Linked DNA regions of Homo sapiens: regions 2 and 3 are each linked to region 1. Evidence: promoter capture Hi-C in human tissues and cell types (Jung and others, 2019). All regions are on one chromosome and are shown on one strand. Each heading gives the region's core, a stretch centred on a gene start or on the middle of the fragment in contact. The rest is flanking DNA. Distances are from core to core; before and after follow the strand shown. Region 1 holds the start of RBM14 (RNA binding motif protein 14). Region 2 holds the start of POLD4 (DNA polymerase delta 4, accessory subunit). Region 3 overlaps KDM2A (lysine demethylase 2A).

The links. The method cuts DNA at HindIII sites, captures the fragments that hold promoters and counts their contacts. A contact is called where the count stands out against the background at its distance.
Region 2: the fragment with the promoter of POLD4 here is called in contact with the fragment with the promoter of RBM14 in region 1 in 2 of the 25 tissues and cell types used here (ovary and spleen).
Region 3: a contact is called between a fragment that was not itself captured here and the fragment with the promoter of RBM14 in region 1, in 1 of the 25 tissues and cell types used here (hippocampus).

Annotation. Positions count from the first base shown.
Region 1 is chr11:66,614,729-66,618,153 of GRCh38, forward strand. It overlaps RBM14 (RNA binding motif protein 14), which reads left to right and starts at 1,902. Exons shown (of 3, transcript NM_006328.4): 1 at 1,902-2,329. The coding sequence starts at 1,993. It overlaps RBM14-RBM4 (RBM14-RBM4 readthrough), which reads left to right and starts at 1,902. Exons shown (of 2, transcript NM_001198846.2): 1 at 1,902-2,329. The coding sequence starts at 1,993. It also overlaps the pseudogene RNU4-39P. RefSeq lists enhancers at 1,378-1,487, 1,852-2,785, 1,918-2,147. The HindIII fragment of the contact is 10,275 bases long and covers 1-3,425 here.
Region 2 is chr11:67,351,930-67,355,354 of GRCh38, forward strand. It overlaps POLD4 (DNA polymerase delta 4, accessory subunit), which reads right to left and starts at 1,617. Exons shown (of 4, transcript NM_021173.5): 1 at 1,374-1,617; 2 at 1,059-1,148; 3 at 762-873; 4 at 1-90. The coding sequence starts at 1,470. The coding sequence ends at 66. The region is part of intron 2 of LOC100130987 (a long non-coding RNA gene); the gene reads left to right. RefSeq lists enhancers at 297-879, 880-1,461, 1,455-1,504 and a silencer at 1,685-1,934. The HindIII fragment of the contact is 15,541 bases long and covers 1-3,425 here.
Region 3 is chr11:67,167,233-67,170,657 of GRCh38, forward strand. The region is part of intron 2 of KDM2A (lysine demethylase 2A); the gene reads left to right. Among named protein-coding and RNA genes, the nearest start is that of KDM2A, 50 kb to the left of the region's middle. The HindIII fragment of the contact is 4,890 bases long and covers 1-3,425 here.

The DNA.
Region 1 (3,425 bases), core at 652-3,151:
GATTACAGGCGTGAGCCACCTCGCCTGGCCCAAGCACATGCCATTTCAATGGCCTTGTGCTACACAACTCCCACCCTCCTATTCTGCTCTCTGTTCCAGGTTCTGGCCATATTGGGCTCTTTTTTTTTTTTTTTTTTGGAGACAGAGTCCTGCTCTGTTGGCCAGGATGGAGTGTGGTGGCGTGATCTCAGCCCACTGCAACCTCCACCTCCTGGGTTCAAGTGATTTTAATGCCTCAGCCTCCTGAGTAGCTGGGATTACAGGTGCCAGTCATCATGCATGGCTAATGTTTTGTTTTCAATTAGCAATAATTGCGCCTCGGATAAACCTCATTGGCTATGATACTGCCACTGCGCAAAGCTAATGTTTTGTAGTTTTAGTAGAGACAGGGTTTTACCATGTTGGTCAGACTGGTCTCGAACTCTTGACCTCAGGTGATCCGCCCGCCTCAGCCTCCCAAAGTGCTGGGATTACAGGCGTGAGCCACCGGGCCTGGCCCATACTGGCTCTTGACTCTTCCTTGAACCAGATTTGCTTCTGCCCCAGCACTCTTTGACTTGTACTTTCTGGCCGGCATGATCTTCCCTCAGAGGATGGCTTAGTTCCCTTGATTACTCCAAGTCCTCATCACCATCTAACACGCTTATGTTTTACTTATTTCTTGCCTGTTTCTCCCCACCATAAGATCCAAGAAGGTTGGGATTTCTGTCATTTTTTTTTGTTCACTGCTATATTCTTGGTGGTGTCCACATGGTAGGTGCTATTTGTTGACTGAACACGTAGGCAAATATTTCCCTGAGTTTGTCACATGTCTATGTTTTTGATGTTGTCTGCCATGCAACAATCTTATTTACATACTCAAATCTGTTTAAAAAAATTTTTGAGACGGAATCTCACTGTCGCCCATGCTGGAGTGCAGTGGCGTGATCTTGGCTCACTGCAACCTCCGCCTTCCGGGTTCAAGTGATTCTCCTGCCTCAGCCTCCCAAGTAGCTGGGATTACAGGCGCGCACCACCACACCCGGCTAATTTTGTATTTTTAGTAGAGACGGGGTTTCACCATTTTGGCCAGGCTGGTCCTGAACTCCTGACCTCCGGTGATCTGCTTGCCTTGGTCTCCCAAAGTGCTGGAATTACAGGCGTGAGCCACCGCTCCCGGACTAAAATTTTTTTTAAGGCTCAACTTTTGCTTCCTGCAGAATTAATTTTCTCGTTTATTAAACTGTTTATTATGAAAACCTTCAACATACAATAACGTCATTCCATTATTTCTTGACTGGGAATTCCATCAGGGCAGAGGCCTTTGATTTTTCACCGGCTGCCAGGACCTCAGCAACCCCAGGGAATGTTTCCAAAGAATCAATTAATGGCACGAGGGCTTCTCCGGGGCCTGCCTCAGGTCCCCTCGCGGTGCTCAGCACAGTCCTGGGAGCCGTTTGCCGACTCAAGGCGCCTGTCCTGGTTTCTCCCGCCAGGCCCGGCCTTCCCCCGTACACTCACGCGGCAACCCCCAGGCGCGGGTTTGGACAGGGCTTCCAGAATGGGAGGAGCCCTGACTTCCAATTGTACAAAGTTTTCCTGGGAGCCCGCCGGTCCCAGCCCCACCCGGGCCAGAGACCGCCTTACAGACTAGGCCTCTCTGCCGCCGGCGCCGCTCGCGCGCGTTCTCCTCTCTTCAGCCCTCCCTCTTCTTCCCAACCCCCTCTCCCGCCACGGGCTGTGGCGGTTGGTCGTCCCTTTCCCACCCCCTCAGCTAACGAGCGGGCTCTAGGCCCTCTGGGATTGGCTGTGCCTGAGCACATCTTCCCTCAGCGTTTCTGATTGGTCGCTGGACGCGCGGGATGCGAGTCCCCATTGGCTAGGCCAGGGCGCCTGCGCGGCGGGGTTCTCGGTCGCCAGCCATTCCTGAGGAGGACTGCCGGTCGTTCGGACGTCTTGCCTGTCGCTGGAGGAGAGGTCCGGGCTCTCCAGGAAGGTGGCTGCGGCGACAAAATGAAGATATTCGTGGGCAACGTCGACGGGGCGGATACGACTCCGGAGGAGCTGGCAGCCCTCTTTGCGCCCTACGGCACGGTCATGAGCTGCGCCGTCATGAAACAGTTCGCCTTCGTGCACATGCGCGAGAACGCGGGCGCGCTGCGCGCCATCGAAGCCCTGCACGGCCACGAGCTGCGGCCGGGGCGCGCGCTCGTGGTGGAGATGTCGCGCCCAAGGCCTCTTAATACTTGGAAGATTTTCGTGGGCAATGTGTCGGCTGCATGCACGAGCCAGGAACTGCGCAGCCTCTTCGAGCGCCGCGGACGCGTCATCGAGTGTGACGTGGTGAAAGGTAACGCGGAGGCGCGCTCGGGGGCGGGGGCGCGCTCGGGGCACTCTGCCTGTTAGCCACGCCCCTTACCCGGGGGTCGGTCACTGCGCGGTTGGGAGGGGTGGGGAAGTGCGCGGGAGCAGGTCGGAGGTGTTGGGGGCGCGTTGGGTAGAGCCACCCTCCTCCCCTGCGGTCCAGGAACCGTCCACCAAGTAGGAGGAAGCGGCTCTGGGTGGGTGCGGCGGCCACTGCGAGCCAAGCTACGGGGCCGGGGACGCGCCTGAGAGCCTTGCGAGTGTTCCGGGGGCGCGCCTTCTCCTGGTCTCCTGGGCCTGGCACCCAGCGGAAATTGGGAAGTGACGGGCACAAGCCGGATCATGAAGCGGGGAAGATTTCTCCACTTCCCCACTTCCTCTCCAGACGTCGGTCAGAGCAAGGGAAGAGGGAAAAGGTGGGGGCTGACGCCCCAAGGCCGCCCTCCTGTTCCCTCCCGATGAATGTGCTCAAGCGGAAGGTAACGGGGCCCTTGGACGTTTCTCGGGCTGGGGTCTTTTAGTCTTGTCTGGCATGGGTCTACTCATGGGCACAGTTACACGTGGGTACGAGAGGGGCCCCTTCCGAATCACTTTGGCCTTTCAATATTAGGTAGGTTAGGCGTGGCAGCTCTGTGCTTTTCTCCTCCCTCAAACTTGGGGTTTTTCTTTGGGCTCGATTTTACATCTGTCAACTGGAAACCCCAGCCTTTTGCATGTGCAAGAAAGCTTGTTTTATGAAGTCCCCTTCTGCGTAGTCTTTACATGCCAAGCCAGTGCCCTAGGGCAGTGTCATTCTTTTATAAGCTTGGTGACTTTGCAGGGGGGCATACTCTGGCTGAGGGGGTCCTGGGGAGGGGTCTGTGAGAGCTCTTCATTAAACAGTGGCTAAACACGGTTTACTGAATCAGTAGTAGTCATTGCTTGAGTAGTCTGATTCTCAGGGCAGATCCCGGTGCCTTTTCTTCGAGAAAAATGTGTCACCATAATTTAAGCCTGACTAGGGACCCAGTTGACTTTTTCATAGCTTGAGTTTTTATCCCTTAAGCTCTTTATCTTTTACATTGGCAAGATTTGGTGGGACA
Region 2 (3,425 bases), core at 367-2,866, 740 kb after region 1:
CTTCTGTCCTGAGGTTCTTGGGTGGTGAGCAAGAGAGCTAAGGGCAGGAGGTCTTACGTGGTGCCTCATAGGGGATAGAGATGCCAGAGACTGTGGAAGATGGGGTGGGAGGGAGGGATACCCCAGAGAGAGAGAGAGAGAAACAGAGAATCAGTTGTTGAGTCCCTGGATCTGATTTCACCAGCTTATTCTTGGCCATGCCCATAGTCCTTGGGAAACCCCTCAGTTCTAAATAGATAGTTCCTTGGGTCCTGGGTGTACCTTTGCCCCCCACTAGCTTGTAGAGGTAAGAATTATTGGCCGGGTGTGGTGGCTCACGCCTGTAATCCCAGCACTTTGGGAGGCTGAGGTGGGTGGGATCACGAGGTCAGGAGATCAAGACCATCCTGGCTAACACGGTGAAACCCTGTCTCTACTAAAAATAGAAAAAATTAGCCGGGCGTGTTGGCGGGCGCCTGTAGTCCCAGCTACTTGGGAGGCTGAGACAGGAGAATGGCGTGAACCCGAGAGGCGGAGTTTGCAGTGAGCCGAGATCGCGCCACTGCACTCCAGCCTGGGCAACAGAGCAAGACTCTGTCTCAAAAAAAAAGAATTATTATAGTGGCGTGTCCTCCTGAGCCAGGCACCTCATAGAATCTTCTTGCCTGTTCAGCAAGGCCTTCCAACCCTCCATCCATTTCTCCCTCAGGTCAGGACAGCAGGGTGACAGTGCCTGGAGAAGGCCCTGGCTCCCCTGAAAGCCCTCCCGGCCTGTCTCTGACCTGCACTGGAAGCGGGGGTCTCCGGGGTGGGTCTTCAGCACCTGCCACACCTCTGGGGGAGGCTCCAAGCCCATCTGCTTGGCCCGACACCAGCGCTGCAGCCGTGTGATCCCTGCCAGGGTGGGAAGAAGACTCTGGAGACTTGTGGGGGGTGGGGTAGAGTCTGAGCTGGAGAATGTGTGTGTTGGGGGGAGACAGTTCCTGAGGGTCAGAGTCACGCAAGCGCTTGGGTGACTTCAGAGACGTGTGGGTGACTGGCTGGGAGAGGCGCCTCCGTGGGGCTGGGTGGGTTCTCACCGGTGCAGGGCCCGTACTGCCAGGCCAGGTCAAACTGCCTCAGCAGCTCCAGCTCCGCTTCCTCCTCGTCGCGGGGCTGGGGCTCCTCCCCTGCAATGACAGCTGCTCTTCAGTACGAGGTTGGCTTCAGTCTCCTGCCCCTCACCTCCCAGCCTTCCTCACCACCGCTTTGCCTCTGCCACCCCGCAGCTAGACCTGGTGTCGGGAGGGGAGGACAGGCCACCTTTCCCTTTCCATCGGCCCCTCCGCCCCTCTAGGGGCCTCCTCTAGGCCCCTCCGTGTCCACTCCTCCTGCCTCCCTCACACCTCAGAGACCTAGCTCGGGTGCCAGCTCCCCCTTGCTGTGCCCAGCGGGCCCCTCCCTCCTCTTCACAACCGGGTAGGAATCAGTGATGAGCCGCTTCCGGCCCATGGCGGCCACCCAGGCAGGCAGAGAAGGAGGCAACTGCGGGGAAGAGGAGAGACCGGCCAGTGGGCGCGAGAAAGACAGCTGCTGAGAGAGACAGACGGGGCCAGGCCAGCGGCGGGCAGACAAGATGACCCAGACAAACCGAGAGAGGAAGTCGCCGGGGTCCAGGGAGGGACGCCTCCCCCACCCCCAAAAGCACGCAAACAGGAAAGACTTCAGCCAATGGCAGGCCGCCTATGCGGGGCGGGGCCCTGGCGCTAGCCAATGGTAGGCAGTGTAGGGTGAGGGGCGGGGCGGTGCCTCAGCTGTGGGCCGCGGGAGGAGGGGCAGGCTGGGGCGGGGGACCTGTCGGGATGCCCCGACTTCACCACCTTCCCCGGCCCCCATTGGTCTGCTGTGGGTCCCGAGAGACTTCAGGAGAGTTATCTTCAGCCTCTCACTTCCCGTTTTCCCTTCCTAGGCAAATGTTCTTTTCAGCTTCGCTAATCCCCGTGGCCAGTTTGTAACTCCCTAGAGTCCAGCTGGAGCCTTCACTCGGTCCTTTGGCCCGCCCCGCCTTGTGGGGGCAGGTCTGGAGGTCTGAAGAGAGTTTGGGCTAATCCAGGCCCCTTCCCGGCTCCCACCCAACCCCCACTGGCCCCAGGAGACCTGGCTGGAGAAGCCCATGGGTTCTGAAACCTCCTTTCTCACAGTCTGTGCCCAAAGATGCTGCCCACTCTTAGTCCGAGTAAGTGTTTGCCGTTTTGACTCTCCTGGGGTCCCAAGTCGTGTCCGGCCCGCCCCACCAGTCAGGAAGATTCCATACTGAGTAGGAAGGCAGAGCAAGGGTCTGGTCCCCCCACCACAATGTGTTTGGATCCCTAGTTCTTCACTGGCAAAATCTGCCCTGTCTCTCACAATAATGTGAGTCTGAGCAGAAAATATTAATAATAAACCTAACACTCATTGCACGTACCATGTGCCAAGTACTGTTCTAAGCACTTTCCCACATGTTAATTAAAATAGATGTCAAAAAGTTTTTGAAAGTAGGAAGTATAGCTAAATGATTATCACTGCTGATAGTCACAGGCATTGTAGGGCCCCAATCAAACCACAGTCTCTCTTGCACCCCAGGAGCTCACTGTCACAAGGCAGACAGATGCACAGTTGTCAGTGAGAGGCTATAATTCCTACCAGAAGAGGGAAAGGGTGGGTCAGAGATTGGTTAGGACCACAGGGATGATTAGCATTGGAAGGCCTCCTGGAGGAGGTGGACTGCTGTAAACAATGTCTCTCAATTCTCCACCCATGACCTTTGTCCCTTGGGCTCCTGTCATCACTGACTCACCCATACTGCTGCCTCCCCCTCACCAACTTCCTGGCAGGAGGCAAAAGTACTGGCCAGTGGGAGTCTGGGAACCAGCACAGGGACCAGCCCAGCTCTAATCACCCTCCAGAGATCCCATCCGGTTCTTCCTTCCAGGGATACTGGGAGGGTGGGGCACAGACTCCTGGGCTGCTGCCTGCTCAGAGGCCTCTGCCTCCTCCTTTCCCTGCTCTGGGGTCTGGGTGTTCTGCACTGGAAGAGGGCTAAGCCACTGGTACACGTGGGCACAAGGGAGGAAGCTGCTCTGGAAAGGAGACCACCAGAGGGGAGGCAGAGGAGCAGGCCATGTCTTCAGGGTCCACGTCCTGCCTGGCTCTCCCCATCGGCGTCCTAGAGGAGGGAGCTTGTGGGGGCACTGCATGGAGCTGGAGGGCCCTTTCTGCTGTATTGTTTGGGCTGGGCCTAGTCTAATCCCCCCATCTGCCTTGCGGACTAAGTGGGGCCCACATTCAGGGAGACAGTGTCCCTGCGGAGTTAGTGATGGAAGCAGGGAGGCCCTGTCTACCAGGGCTGGGAAGGGCCTAGGTGCTGAGTCCAGTCAGGTGCTGAGCATGCTAGGTAGGGATGGCGTCTAGGCTCTGGGGGATTGACT
Region 3 (3,425 bases), core at 594-3,093, 550 kb after region 1:
TGAGATGCCTTATCCTCATCTTGAATTGATAGCCACATTTTGTTGTTGTTGTTGCAGAGTTGTGATGATATCATAGTTAAATGTGCAGCAAGCACACTGAACAGTTGATTATACCTGATGGTATGCAGGAAGGCAGGCAACAGTGATGGGAGAGATCTAGCACTTTTAACTCATTTCTTGACCAATTAGTTTTGTGGAGGGCTTGTTTGTGGTCAGGGTAAGTGTATCCCGACTCTTTTAGGATCATTCTGTATATAAGTAGCTATTTGACACTAGTTCTTGGGGGAACTTTTTAGGGAATAGTTTACTTTTGTATATTCATCTTCTCTTGAACATTCTGCCTTCACAGCTATCTTTTTTTTTTTCCTTAAAGGTCCTACTGACTAAATATTTTTTTTTAATCAAGAGACTTAGGTACGCATAAGCTTCCTGCTAAATTCTGTAGACACCTTCTATTTATGGGTTACATTATCTGGTTGTTGGAATTATTGTGATCTAACATTTTTCATGTATGGAAACTGTTCTATGTACTGTTGATCTCTGTAGAATTTGATCTTTTCCAGAATGTATTTGAAGGCTGACCTTTCAGTAAAAGAAATGCAAGCTTTTCAGCCATGTTAATTTATCACTGCATCTTCTTTGTAATATATATGGCAGTTATGTTAAAAGTAAACATGTGTTTTTCCTTATTCTCTGTGCTCAGGCCATTTATCATTTAGGGACAAAAAGTTTTATATAGATCAAAAGATAAAAACTTGGGCCTAAGGCTTAGTCATTGTAAGGCAGTGATTCCGACTCTTTTTATACTTCCTTAGGGCATTTTAATTAAAATCCATCATGAGATATGAAATTATCAAACTTTGTATAACCTTTTATTTTAGAAGAAAGTTTTATATATATCTTATTAATAAGGAGATACTGATAAATCTAGTAAGTGAAGAGAAACCCCCTAAAATTTGAAGAGATCACTGCTATAGAGGAGCAACACAGTCTGTATCTATGGTCTTTGGAACTTGGTAGATGTCCAGTGAAGTTATGCTGAATGAATCAGCATTTTTCTTATGTGGCTTCTTAGGTGGAGCTTCCCCCAAACCCTCTGTGTTAGTTGTTCTTCCTACTGGGCTTCAATAACATTTGTATCTACCTGTCTTAATACATAGCACATTAAATTGTAATTCTATAATTTATTTACATATTTGTTGCCCCCTAGTGGCCAGCAATCTTCTTGAGTGCTAGGACTACATTTTAATTTTTGTATACAGAGTGTCTGGCTATTTTTTCTATATTCAGCATGGTCTTGTATGAATTATAATACACACACACACACACACACAGTCTTGTATGAATTATACACACACACACACACACACACACACACACACACACACACACACACACACACACACACACACACACACACACACACACACACGGTCGGGGGGATAGACAGCAATGTCCGTCTATCCACATATGGCCCAGTGTGTGACCTGGCAGCAGTGCTGGGTTTTCAAAAGGTTGCAAAGAAGAAAATGAAAGCAACAGCGTTTTAAAGTTCAGTTGATTTTTTGGATATGTATGCATTCATATGTTGTGGGAGAGCAGAGTGAAAGCCTGAGGTTGCTTTTTCCTTTAAAATGTATTTATTTATTCAAGTACATATTAAGGCTATGAAGTGGGGATTTGGTATATGTTGCAAAGATTCAGATTTAATCCATGTAGTTTTTTTTTTTTTTTTTTTTTTGAGATGGAGTCTCACTCTGTCGCACAGGCTGGAGTGTAGTGGTGTGATCTCAGCTCACTGCAACCTCTGCTGCCGGGGTTCAAGCGATTCTCTTGCCTCAGCCTCCTGAGTAGCTGGGATCACAGGCGCCTGCCACCGCGCCTGGCCAATTTTTGTATTTTTAGTAGAGATGGGGTTTCAACATCTTGGCCAGGCTGGCCTTGAACTCCTGACCTCGTAATCCACCTGCCTTGGCCTCCCAAAATGCTGGGATTACAGGCGTGAGCCACTGCACCCGGCCTAATCCATGTAGCTTTATATAACTTTACAAAACAATGCCCTAAATTTTTTTTTTTTAAATCGTATCACAGTGTGAGACATGAAAATCTAATAGTGACAAGATTGGTTTCTTTCTTTCTTTCTTTTTCTTTTTTTTTTTTTTTTGAGATGAAGTTTCGCTCCTGTTGCCCAGGCTGAAATGCAGTGGCACCATCTCGGCTCACTGCAACCTCTGCCTCCCAGGTTCAAGTGATTCTCGTGCCTCAGCCTCCTGAGTAGCTGGGATTACGGGCCTGAGCCACCATACCTGGCTAATTGTTTTTTGGTAGAGAAGGGTTTTCACCATGTTGGCCAGGCTGCTCTTGAACTCCTGACCTTAGGTGATCCTCCTGCCTCAGCCTCCCAAAGTGCTGAGATTATAGGCATGAGCCACTGCGCTCAGCCCATCACTTGGTTTCTTTTTTCTTTCTTTTTTCTTTTTTCTTCTCTCTCTCTCTCTCCTTCTCTCTCTCTCTCTCTCTCTCTCTCTTTTTTTTTTTTTTTTGAGACGGAGTCTCACTCTGTCACTCAGGCTAGAGTACAGTGGCGAGATCTCGGCTCACTGCAACCTCTGCCTCCTGGATTTAAGTGAGTCTCCTGCCTCAGCCTCCTGAGTAGCTGGGATTACAGGCACGTGCCACCATGGCAGGCTAATTTTTGTATTTTTAGTAGAGATGGGGTTTCACCATGCTGGCCAGGCTGGTCTCGAACTCCTGACCTCGTGATTTGCCCACCTCGGCCTCCCAGAGCGCTGTGATTACTGGCGTGAGTCACCATGCCTGGCCCACAGTTTCATCTTTTTAGAGGTCTATAATAAATTATAACTACAAATATAGGAAGTGAGAACACATTTTCATGGCATACACACAATAAATGTACCGAGTTCAAACACCTTGTGATAGAAAATGCTGATTAGAAATAGCAGTGTTTTCATTTCAGCCAGAATAGTTGAACAACCAGTAGTTTGTCAACGAAAAGCTAGAATTAGAAACCAGGAATGGTGGAATATTAGATAAACAATAATATAGCTAGAAATGTAGTGTCCCTTAACAAATATCAGAAATCTCTTACCCCAGGGAAGATCCTTTGCTAATCCTTTATCCTACCAAGCATGGGGTTTTTTTTTTTTCTTTCTTTCTTTTTTTTTTTTTTTTTTTTTTGAGATGGAGTCTCGCTCTGTCGCCCAGGCTGGAGTGCAGTGGCGCGATCTCAGCTCACTGCAAGCTCCGCCTCCTGGGTTCGCACCATTCTCCTGCCTGAGCCTCCCGAGTAGCTGGGACTGCAGGCACCTGCTACCACACCGGGCTAATATTTTTGTATTTTTAGTAGAAACGGGGTTTCACCATGTTAGCCAGGATGGTCTCGATCTCCTCACCCAGTGATCCGC